2 separate regions of the Homo sapiens genome follow, and region 1 is linked to region 2. The links are contacts of gene promoters, found by promoter capture Hi-C in blood cells and fetal thymus (Javierre and others, 2016). All regions are on one chromosome and are shown on one strand. Each heading gives the region's core, a stretch centred on a gene start or on the middle of the fragment in contact. The rest is flanking DNA. Distances are from core to core; before and after follow the strand shown.

Region 1 (6,156 bases), core at 1,754-4,253, 100 kb after region 2:
GCTGAAATCTTTGCTCCATTTGGGCTCTTTCAGAAGAGAGCCCAGGATGATAGAGGCACAAAGGTCACACAAATGCCTGCATCCACCTTATTTTTCAAAGCTCCTACCGCACACACACTCATCCAGAAATGCCTGGGCAGGTGCCCTATATTTCAAGATGAAACCAATCTTCAACTTGAGGTCCATTCTCACTTCACTGTCATATCTAAGAAGGAAGTAAAAATATAAACCTGACTTCAAAGCTTCAAAAAAATACATAGATTTTTAATGAAGTTTACTTAAGGACAAAAACAGTATGCTATAGTTAACATTTTATGGCAAAACCCTTAAATTCTATTTTCTTTGTTTCTTTGACATGAGAGATCTTTGCGCATAACCCTCTTCTCCCCTTCCTCTCTCCTGCCAATACCACTTTTCTCTTCTCCCTTTGAGTCCCACTAGACTTTTTAAAAACTCAATAATTTACAACTCTCTTGGCTTCCCAGATTGTGACCCATATGTAACAGCAAAACAAATGGTTTTCCTTACAAGGGGATGGAAGGGGAGAGGGCAAAGAGGGAGACAGGGCACTGAGTGCTGGTCCTCAGATCATGCTCCCCATAATAGCATGCTTATGCTTGGAAGGGAGCTGTGGCCCTTGTTGCAGGTGGAGAAGCAGTGTGGGAACCCAAGTGCTGTCCCAGCAAGGCCCTGTCTGTGACAGACCCTGCACAAGCCATGATCTCTAAGACCCTTTCCTTTTCCTCAGCAGTGCTGTTTTCATTTGCATTCTGTGAAGTGAGTATCCAGTCCCTCTACTCACAGACTTCTGCTTTGTCCCCAGGAAACAAATTCCATCACAGTCTATGCTAGTGTGACACTTCCAGAGAGCTGACACCAGAGACCAACAAAGGGACTTTCTGAAGGAAAATGGAAAAACCAAAATGAACACTGAACTTGGCCACAGGCCCCAAGTTTCCTCTGGCAGACATGCTGCACGTCTGTACCCTTCTCAGATCAACTCCCTGGTGATGTTTCTTCCACATACATCTGTGAAATGAACAAGGAAGTGAGGCTTCCCAAGAATTTAGCTTGCTGTGCAGTGGCTGCAGGCGCAGAACAGAGCGTTACTTGATAACAGCGTTCCATCTTTGTGTTGTAGCAGATGAAATGGACAGTAATGTGAGTTCAGACTTTGGGCATCTTGCTCTTGGCTGGAACTGGATAATAAAAATCAGACTGAAAGCCAGGACATCTGAGTACCTATCTCACACACTGGACCACCAGTCACAAAGTCTGGAAAAGTTTACATTTTGGCTATCTTTACTTTGTTCTGGGAGCTGATCATGATAACCTGCAGACCTGATCAAGCCTCTGTGCCTCAGTTTCTCTCTCAGGATAAAGAGTGAATAGAGGCTGAAGGGTGAATTTCTTATTATACATAAAACACTCTGATATTATTGTATAAAGGAAGCTAAGAATATTATTTTATTTGCAAAACCCAGAAGCTAAAAAGTCAATAAACAGAAAGAATGATTTTGAGATCTCTGAGTTTTGAACAGTGGACTGGAAACCATGTAAGAGCCTTAAAAGTACAGTTCTGTGCAAATGGCATTCAGTTTTAAAGAAAAACGTAGCAAATGTTTGATGGTGCTGTTACAAAGGAGCTTGGAATACTCAGAGGAACTTGTCCCATGGTGATTTTTCACTTCTCAAAATGATGTTTAAATCCCAGTTCTCTGTTGATTCCCTTGAACAACAAACCTGGAACCTCAGCTAAGACTCTCTGTGACCAGATTCTGAACCTCTTATATCCAGGGCTTCAAGGGGTATTGCAGGTCAAGGTCTTTCCTAGGCACTTTCTACTCCCTGCATACCTCTCCTCACACTAAATTTATCCTCTAGTAGAAAATTAAGTTATTTTGGTCTAACAGCTTCAAATCTTTGAATGCTCAATAACTTATTTTGCAAGCTGCAGGCAGAAAGAGACTTTTTAAGTAAAGTCCTTTGTTTTTTCCTATTCTCTGCTTTTAGACAGGCTGTCCTCAATTTAAGCCCTGCTTTTTCTTATTGTTTCTTATATAAACTTGGTAAGTACTGTAAGAAACAGCCACTATCATACCATTGCATAATAAGGAGCACCAACTTCCCAGCTCAAAACTCAGGTCCTTATTGCCTTGTATCTTACCTCCTCTATGAGGTCAATTCACATTGTAAGCCTGTTGCTTAGTGCATCTCGTTTCCTGGTACCAGCTTCTTTAATAGAGTTCTTAGTTGCAATCAACAGAAGCTGGCTTTGGCTTTTTTATGTAGAAAAGGAACCTATTGAAAAGATACTGATTGGTTCCAATAACTGCTAGAAGTTTCTGCAAAACCATGCTTTGAAAGTGAGCAGGAAAAGAAGAGACTAGGCTGTGGCTGGGAGCACAGCCAAAATTACAAAACCAGCCCAGGGATGATGATCCTGTTCATGCACAGCCACTGTCCCCAGCACTAGGCACAGACTCTACCACTGCCTCACTGTCTCTGCTGGACTTGGAAACTTGATATTACTGTTACTGCTGCACTGTCTGCCATGAAAATGAATTCTCCAGGGTCCCTTCTTCATCCTTTCATCTCTAGCTTATAATTCAAAGTCTGGGATTGAGTGGCCAATCCTAGGTCACATGTCCATGTCCTATCTCCAAGGGGGGCTGGGAATTGAATATCTGGCATTTTCCACTTTCACTTCTTATGAATTAAGGAATTCTACAAATAATAGAAGTGGGATTCAGGTGGTAGGCAGACAAAAAAGCCTCACAATTATCCACTACGCCACCCTTGTATAACCTTACCCTCATTCACTGTCTACTCTCAAAACTGTGGAGCTACTAATGAAGATTTGTAAACCCGGGCTTATGAGCACCCATTCCTTTACTACAACTCAGATTGCTCTAGAAGCTCAGTTCCCAGCACTTGGATTTTTCCAGTAGCTGAATTCTACCTGAAGGAAGGGCAGAAACAAAGGGTGAAGAAGAGGCTATCACTTCCAAGTATCCTGCACCCCTGGGCTCAAGACCTCACTGGGGAGGGAGTCTTTTGGGCCACCCACCAAACAGCACTGGCATTATGCCTCTCACCCTAGACCATGGTTACACGTGGTAAAACAACCCCTTCTGGTGATACATTCACAACTCTCTAGTTTCCCCCAAATGGCACTATGGGGAGCGGGAGCTTGCCTTTTCCTCAGACTTAAAACAATAAGTTTTCCCCGTGTTTCCCCTCTAATGCTGTTTTCTTTTGACCAAGCATGTCTGAATTCTAGAGAAGTCAGGAGGAACACACCCATTCTCGGTTTGAAGGGACTGATGTTCTGAAGTACAACTGGGCACAGTCCCAGGCTCTTCAGGACGCTTCCTCCATTCACACAGCGGGGATGTGATTGTTACAGCGGGTGGTGTGTGCTGGCTGAGAAGCCACTGTGAATTGATTCTTCTTCTGAAGTTTATGTTTCTACTTTTTGGAAATGAATAAATTACAGCCAGTCCATCAAGGAAATTGCAATTTTGTCTTGTGTTTCCTAAAGGATTTATAACACAGTAATATGGCATGATGTGTTTCCTGGCCTTATGTCTCCATGCCATAGTTATGAAATGCTGAAGGAGGCAGATTTGATCAGATAGGATGTGAGGTTGTCCCTTTCCTGGAGGTGGACAAGGGTTAGCTTGGCATCCCCTTCACCAAAGGTCAGGAACCACCCTCCACATGGAGAACTGTGTTGAAAGGATTGTTTAATTTTTGTCACTGCCAGAGTAATTCCCTTCCCTGAACTCTGCCAAATTCCCCTTGTGGACAAAATCTAGAGCAGGGTTTCTCAACTGCCACACTATTGACATTTGGGGCTGGATAATTTTTTTGTCATGGGGCTGTCCTGTGCACTGTAGGGTGTTTAACAGCATCCCTGGCCTCGGCCCACTGGGTGTATGGCACATGCCCTGTCCTTGATTGTGACAATCAAGTGTCTCCAAACACTACCAAATGTCCCCTGCTTGGCAAAATCTCCCCCAGTTGAGAACCACTGATCTAGAGATATGCTGGCCCCCTGGTGAGCTCTGAGAAAACTAAATACGCTTCTATATACCAAGAAGTAGATCTGTCAAAGGTGGCCACCTGGTCACTTAAGCATGGCCCAAACCTGCCAGTGACACCCAAGTTTACCTAAATATTAGAATTACCCGGGAAACTTTTTAAAAAATAATGATGACCAAATCTAACCTGAAACCAAAATGAGATCTGGGTTGAGATTTATAGAACTACTTATACCACAGAAAGGATTTCGTGATGAGTTTCACACACCAGCCACAAGAGGGTGATATAGCAACACAATCCACCCAACCTTAGCATCCCCACCACTTCCTTGTATCTAAAGGATGTGGACTTAGTCACAGACTGGATGAAACTGTGTCTGGTTTCTCAGCTCTTACAGGCTGAAAGGAGATAAGGAGGCTAATGTGGATTGATGAAAGGCTCTAAAAGGTTAAGTGTACTAAGTTTATTTCACAGAAGACTTCTAGTTCTACTCAATGCTTCACTCATTCAACAAAGTTATTAAGTTCCTACTAAGTGTTTGGCTTGTCATCCAGCAGGAGATACAAAGAACACAGGCAATTGAAGTATTATAACAGGTAGATCACTATGTGATCTACTGAGAACCATTGGAAAATAAAAGAAGATGCTATTAATAATTACCCTGGGGCAGGGGATGGCAGCTAGGAGGCAGGACTAACTTGCAACTCTCACTCAGATGTGTGGAGACTCACATCATGAACTTTTGTTCCAAGAACCGCTGCAGGAACATACCAGGAAAACTGAAAGAATTCACCAGCCCTTTGAAAGAAGTGGCTTGCCACTGCAAACTCTGTGAAATAGCTGAAAAACTGTGAGTGCCTAAAGTGTGAGAGGGGGAAAGTCTACCTCTGAACACACATCTTCACTGGGGAAACCTGAAAATCCAAATAACAGGAGAAGAATTTAACTTTACCTAGAGCTGAAATGAATTTAGAGAGCCAAGCAAAATACAAAAGTAGAAGAAGCAGTGGGAAGAGCCCTACAGGCACTCCTGGTCCCCCAGGAAGTCCAGGGAAGTCATTTCTGACTTTATCTCACAGGGTTCCTTGGGGAGGGCTGCCAGTGGGATTGGGGAAGGGCCACAGGGAGAAGGAAACTTCCAGCTGAACTTTGTAATAATTTTGACTGAGTACGAATTGTCCTGGTCAGGATCTGTGGAGATGAATAGAAAGTGCAGATATGAGCACAGAAGCCACAGCAGGCAGGGAGGGGTGAGGCCTGAAAGCCCTGCTTGCCTTCTCAGCAGAGAGGCTAGTATCCCAGGGCAACATCCCAGCCCTGCATACCAGAGGCTTGGATATAAATTTGGCTCTTTGGGGAGCATGGCAGGAGTGAGACTGGCCTTGCTGGCTGTGTGGGAGTGGGGAGAGGCCTGTCACCACTGGCTTTCCCCCACTTCCCTGGCTACCTGTACAAAGCAGCAGAGGCAGCCATAATCCCCCTGGGAACATAACTCCATTGGCCTGAGAACCACACCCCCATACCGCACAGTTGCCACAGCAAGCCCTGTCCAAGGATAGTCTGAGCTCAGACATGCTCAACTCTGCCCCCACCTGATGGTCTTTTTCTGCCAGCCCTGGTAGCTGAAGACAAAAGACATAATCTTGTGGGAGCCCTATGGCCCTCCCATCACCTGAGAAACCCAAATACTTATCCAGGTGACCTTAGGGCAAGCTTGTATTCCCCCGTACTGCTGCAGCTGATGCTCTCTTGAAATCGCCACCTTCTGGCTGGAGGCCAATCAAGTCAAGCCATTATAGCAACTCATAACAAAATAGCCCTGCTCCAAGGAAGGAGAAAACAACAGCTAATTCCACCACTTGTAACGTCCTGGCTAACCAGAGGTCCTGAGTCTGTCCATGTGACAACTTCACTGTTAGCATAACCAGCATTTGAGAAAACCTGTGCACTAAACAAAACTACAACCAAGGACTCTCACAGAATCCACTTCACTGCCCTGCTACCTTCACTGGAGTAGGTGCTCGTATCCGTGGTTGAGAGACCTGAAAATAGATCACAACACAGGACTCTTTGCAGACACTCCCCAGTACCAGCCTGGAGCCTGGTAGG
Region 2 (5,747 bases), core at 1,238-3,737:
GCCCTCATTTGCTGAGCTGCAGGTGGCAGGAACGAGAGAGAGAGCTGTAACATTTCTTGGGGTCTCAGGCCTTGGGATTCCCCAAGCAAAGCTGTAACACCCCTTAGGGCTCCGCAGTTGCTGGCATCTCCGAGTTTCTTAGTGCCACTGTGTTCCCTTCATTTAGACACTGGTGCCCAAGGTGGAAGCAGGTCACAGCACTCCCCGTCCTGCCACTGACTGAGTGTGGATCCTATGGCTCAGGAGTTCAAGACTGGCCTGGGCAACATGGTGAGACCTCATCTCTACAAAAAATTTTAAAAAAATAGCCATGCATAGTGGTCACTGTACTCCAGACTGGGTGACAGAGTGGGAGCCTGTGCCCCCCTCCCCCCAAAAAAGAGAATGTAACATTAATTTACAGGGTCTCTTTTAAAAATCTAATACAATGTTATCTTTTCTTGCTGAAGGAGCAGGGTCGTATCCTAAGGTTAAATCAATTTATAGGAAAAATATAACACACAGTTCCAAAGTGTAACAATTTGACCAAGAGGAATTTGATTCTGGTGCTGTTTCAAATTTTATTTGCAGGGTTCTTTCTTTTCACTTTTATGTTTTTTTCCCTTTTATTTTTAGTTGACATATAATAATTATACATATTTATGGGATACAGAGTAATATTTTGATACATGTATTCAATGTGTGATGATCAAATCAAAGCAATTAGGATACCTATCACCTCAAACATTGATCATTTCTTTGTGTTGGGAACATTCCAAATCCTCTCTTCTAGCTTTTTGAACATATACATTAAATTATTCTTAACTGTATTCACTCCATAGTGCTACAGGATGCTGGAACTTATTCCTCTTCTCTAGCTGTAACTTTGTATCTATTAACCAACTTCTTCCCATCCTCCACTTCCCTCTACCCTTCCCAGCCTCTGATAACCACAATTTTACTCTCTACTTCTATGAGCTCATTTTTTAAGCTTCCATATATGATTGGGAACGTGGTTTTTTATCTTTCTGTGCATGACTTATTTCACTTAACATAATGTCCTTCAGGTTTGAGGACTGAGAAGAGCAGACATTTTATTGTTCATCTCCATGTTGAGAATCAGAAATGTCCCCAATTAAAAAGTGATTACAAATATGTTATATCAGGAACTGTGGCTTGCCTGTGGGTCCTGGGTGGGCAAATAACTAATTTACATTCAATAGGAATGAGCTTGAAATTTCCTAGACATGATATGATTTGGCTGTGTTCCCTTCCAAATCTCATCTTGAATTGTAGTTCCCATAATCCCCACATATCATGGGAGCAACCCAGTAGGAAGTAAGTTAATCATACGAGCAGTTACCATCATGCTGTTCTCGTGATAGTGAGTTCTCACTAGATCTGATGGTTTCATAAGGAAGGGGCTTTCCCCATTGCTGCTCAGTGCTTCTCTTTCCTGCCACCGTGTGAAGAAGGACGTATTGGCTTCCCCTTGCACCATGATTGTAGGTTTCCTGAGGCTTCCCAAGCCATGCTGAACTAGAAGTCAATTTAACCACTTTCCTGGCCAGGCACAGGCCCATGCCTATAATCCCAGCACTTTGGGAGGCTGAGGCAGGTGGATCACTTGAGGTCAGGAGTTCAAGACCAGCCGGGCCAACATGGTGAAACCCTACTAAAAATACAAAAATTAGCTGGGCATGGTGGTGCTTGCCTGTAATCCCAGCTATGTAGGAGGCTGAGGCAGGAGAGTTGCTTGAACCTGTCAGGTGGAGGTTGCAGTGAGCTGAGATTGCACTGCTGCACTCCAGTCTGGGCTACAGAGTGAGACTGCATCTCAAAAAAAAAAAAAACCAAAACAAACAAAACAAAACAAAACCCCTCTCTTTCCTTTATAAATTACCCAGTCTGGGGTATGTCTTTATTAGCAGTGTGAGAACAGACTAATACAGACTACAAGGGTGGGAAATCCATTCTTTTGGGCCAAGTAATCTTACTTTTTTTCTGATGTTCAGTGGATAGGCTGATGTCAAACTTCAAATAGTGAATTATCATAAAGGAAGAAGAGCAGAGGGTGGTGCTGGGGGTAAGATATGCAGCACAAAGGCTACGTGGGTCTGATTTCCCAGACTTCAGGCTCTGAATGACACCTACCCAGGCTTGACTGGGAAGCTCCTATGTCTTAGCCCCTGAATTAATCAGAGGGATTCCTGCCTGGGAACGAAAAGCAGACATTCTCTATCAGGGTCCCTTATTCTTTTCTGAGTACTGGCCCCCCTGAGAGTACAGTAGAAGCTATGAATCTTCCCCCTACAAAAAAGCACTCATGTACCTTCAAACAAAATTGTTCTCAGTTTCCGTGATGCTCTTAGATAAAAAAATTTACAAGACCTCCGGTTTCTGGTTTCTGGGGCCCCACACAAGTGTGCTGGGTGGAGAGAAAATCTCAGTGGTTTTTTTTTTTTTCTCTCTAACCCTGTTTGGTAAGTTCCGTTTTTAGCCCCGGCCTTTTTCTAGCCAGGCTCTCAACTGTCTCCTGCGTTGCTGGGAAGTTCTGGAAGGAAGCATGTGCTCCAGAGGTTGGGATTCGTGTCTGGCTCTGGAATTGCTACTGCTGCCTCTGTCACTCCTGGTGACCAGCATTCAAGGTACTTTCCACCAACTGTGTATCTGTGATTGTGCACTGAAGGCATGGTCAGTTGGGAAAGGGGAGACGGGATGTAGTTCAACCCTAGAAGCCAGATCTGGTGTCTGGAAAGCAGGTATTTCCATTCCAATAGCATGGCCATGGCATGGTTGGGGAGCCTTTCTTAGCACTGATGAATGGAGCTTCATCTCCTTTCCCACGGGGATGTGATCAAAACAGGAACCTGGGGAGCAAGAGAAGTAGGCTCCTCATATTTTGTCCCGTGGTTGGTGGTCCATGAAGTTGTGGAAAAGTGTTTGTTTTTTCATTTTGAATAAGAAGAAGCTCTACACTGACAGCTGCTGCATTTTATGCTCAGACACACTGTACTCCCTTAGGCATTCTTTGAGACCTCTGTATATGTGAGGTGTTGCATCCTGAGCCAAGGTAAATGATATTGTCATTGACCCAAAGAAAAGATAGATCAAAATTATAGGAAGAAAAGCTTGGAAAGGATTGCTGTCTGGGGTCTCTGAATGAGGGTCTGAGAAGAGGCTGGAAGTGCTTCAGCATCAAAGGAACCTTAACACATCTGATTGCTAAGAGTTAAGGTCCATTCCTCTGCCACAGCCTGTTCGGTCCCCGGTGTGTGACCAAGGGCTGAGCTAACTTTCCTTCTCCTGTTAGAGCTGCCTCACCCTCTTTCTTCATCCAGTACCTCTCTTCTTATGCCAGCTGAGAAACAGCAGTGAAACCTTTGACTTTCTTGCTATTCCCCCAAGTAAATACTCAAGTCTTTTTAATTTAAAGGGCTTTAATGCTCACCACTCTGAGTAAAACAGTAAAAATCAACAAACATGTGGTAGTCACACTGTGGCATAAAATGATGATAGTTTGTAACTTTTGGGGAGATGAGGTAGAATGTGTGGAGGATCGGTCTCTCACATATTCTACCTCTCAGGTAGAGTCCTTTGGTTCATGACTGTGTGAGTCTACGGCTATATAGGTTCTGTGGGCCTGACTCAATGCATAGGACATTGGTATGACCTTGGGATTGGGGGCTGATGTGAAGTATTCATCTAACTATTGGGAAAAGCAGGGTTGCCAATGAGAATTGGAATATTTTAGGACTTTCTCTAGGCATACTGAAAACATCCTGACAGTTGACCTTTCTCTGACTTCTTTTCTAGGCTTCATCTTGGTCATTTATTCTTCTTTGAAACAATCAGACCACACCTGATTATGTTATCCTTTGAATGGATAATATTGGTTTTGATGAGGTTAGTAAACCTGGGTTATAACACCCGGGCTATAACCTGGGTTAGTAAAATACAAATTAAGCACTTACTGTGTGTCAGACATTGTGCTAGGCCTTTTGCATACTTTTTCATTTAACTTTCATTAGAAAATAGTGAGGTGGCTATTATTATCTACATTTTTCAGATGAGAATACTGTCTTGCAGAGAGATTAAGAAATTCTCCTAAGGGCACACAGGTCTAACTTCCAAACCATTCTATTATGATTATACCTTTCCTAGACTAAGGCGAGGGAATCTTGGTGAAGGTCAATGTGTCTAAATCTCTTAATTTTACTGTTTGCCTTAAAAGAGGCGTTTTCTCTTACCTCTGGGCTTATGTACATGCCTTCTTTCCACCTAGATTTCTCTCCCTCCTGCCCTCTCCCTGCCTCTCTTTTAGGCTTCTGTTTTTATGTGACTTCTTCTTGGACTGTCTGCCTGTGACTGTGTTCTGAAGGCATGGTTAGATGGGAACCTCAGGCTCCAGATTATGGTTTGTGAATTGCTTGGTGGATCATCTGTTTCCTTGAACTTTTTGAGGACAGAAACCATGTGCAGTGTTGTGCTGCTGAACTTAGCACAGGCCTGGAGTGTGGCATGTGCTCAATAAATAATTGTTACACAAATGAATGAACAACTTCAAAAAACTTCCTTTTGGACTACACATCCATATCTTCCTGAGAAGTGCAAGTAGTTCTCTCCTCTGCCGTAAGGGATGCTTCTGTGGAAAACTTTGAGAAGCACTCTTAGCTCTCTTCTTCCTTCTCTCCTCAGACTTGGGTTTCTCAGTTCTTTGGTTTCAAGGCAATGATTTAGGGCATGCTCCACAACTACCCAATTCCCCATCTGTCCACAACACTTAGCAGGATGAAGTAGACAGAGTATTGTACTAGAAATGAGATGACCTAGTTCTATCTGGGTTCCATGCTGTGGAATTTTCAACAAGTCATTAAAGCTTCCTGAGCCTCAGCTTCCTCAGCTCCATAATGGGTATAATAATCTGTTCCTCATTTCTTCAAGGGGTTGCTATTAAGATCAAATAAAATAAAAAATGTGCAATTGCTTTGCAATTGTGACACATGCGGAATCCGATACAGATGAAAACCTGGGAAGAGCATCAGTAAATTCTTAAGCCCCAAGCAGTCTCCTGAGCCCAAGATCAGAACTTCTGTCTCTTAAACATCTTCTCTAGACTCTCCAGACACGTGTCTAAAACTTAAGTCATCATCTCTGTTTCCGCTATGTATTGCTATTTAACAAGCTGCCACAATACCGTGGCTTAAAATAATAACAATGATTTACTTTGCCCACAGATTTGGGGGAAGACTGTTCATCCTGTCTCACTTTCATGTGCTTTTCATGTGCTTGCAATCAGATCATGGTGTGGCCTAGAGTCATGCAAGGCTCTTCACTCACAGGGCTACTGCCTGAACAGAGGGAGGCTCAAAGTGCTGGGTGGCTAGTGCCACTCAGCAGAAGCCTCCCAGAGTTGGTGTCCCAAGAGAAATAGGCAAATGCTGCATGGTCTTTTCTAAGCTAGCTTTGCAGGTCACACTTCCGGTGTATTCCATTCATTGAAGCCATCACCGAGCCTACTCAATTTCAAGGTGAAGGGGCACAAAGTCCATCATTTGATGAGAGGACCATCAAAAAATTTACAGACTTAAAAAAAAATACTACAATCCTTCTTCCCCCAAACCTACTGCTCCTCCACTGTTCCCCACCTCTATAAATGACATCTCCACTTGTCTAGTTGCTCAGGCCAGAATTCTAGGAGTCATCCTTGCTTCTTTTCTCTCCCTTGCTTCTCATGCCCAATGAGTAAGTCCTGTTAATTCTACTTT

The links. Contacts are between HindIII fragments. The CHiCAGO score rates a contact against its expected background, and 5 or more counts as called.
Region 1: a contact is called between a fragment that was not itself captured here and the fragment with the promoter of CD48 in region 2, in 4 of 17 cell types (non-activated CD4 T cells, activated CD4 T cells, total CD4 T cells and 1 more). The highest score is 6.6, in non-activated CD4 T cells.

What each region holds. Positions count from the first base shown.
Region 1 is chr1:160,605,466-160,611,621 of GRCh38, reverse strand. SLAMF1 (signaling lymphocytic activation molecule family member 1) reads left to right here. Exons shown (of 7, transcript NM_003037.5): 7 at 824-3,516. The coding sequence ends at 874. Among named protein-coding and RNA genes, the nearest start is that of CD84, 29 kb to the right of the region's middle. The HindIII fragment of the contact is 5,518 bases long and covers 245-5,762 here.
Region 2 is chr1:160,708,562-160,714,308 of GRCh38, reverse strand. It overlaps CD48 (CD48 molecule), which reads left to right and starts at 2,487. Exons shown (of 4, transcript NM_001778.4): 1 at 2,487-2,627. The coding sequence starts at 2,546. RefSeq lists enhancers at 1,459-1,518, 2,059-2,238, 5,515-5,584. The HindIII fragment of the contact is 2,140 bases long and covers 973-3,112 here.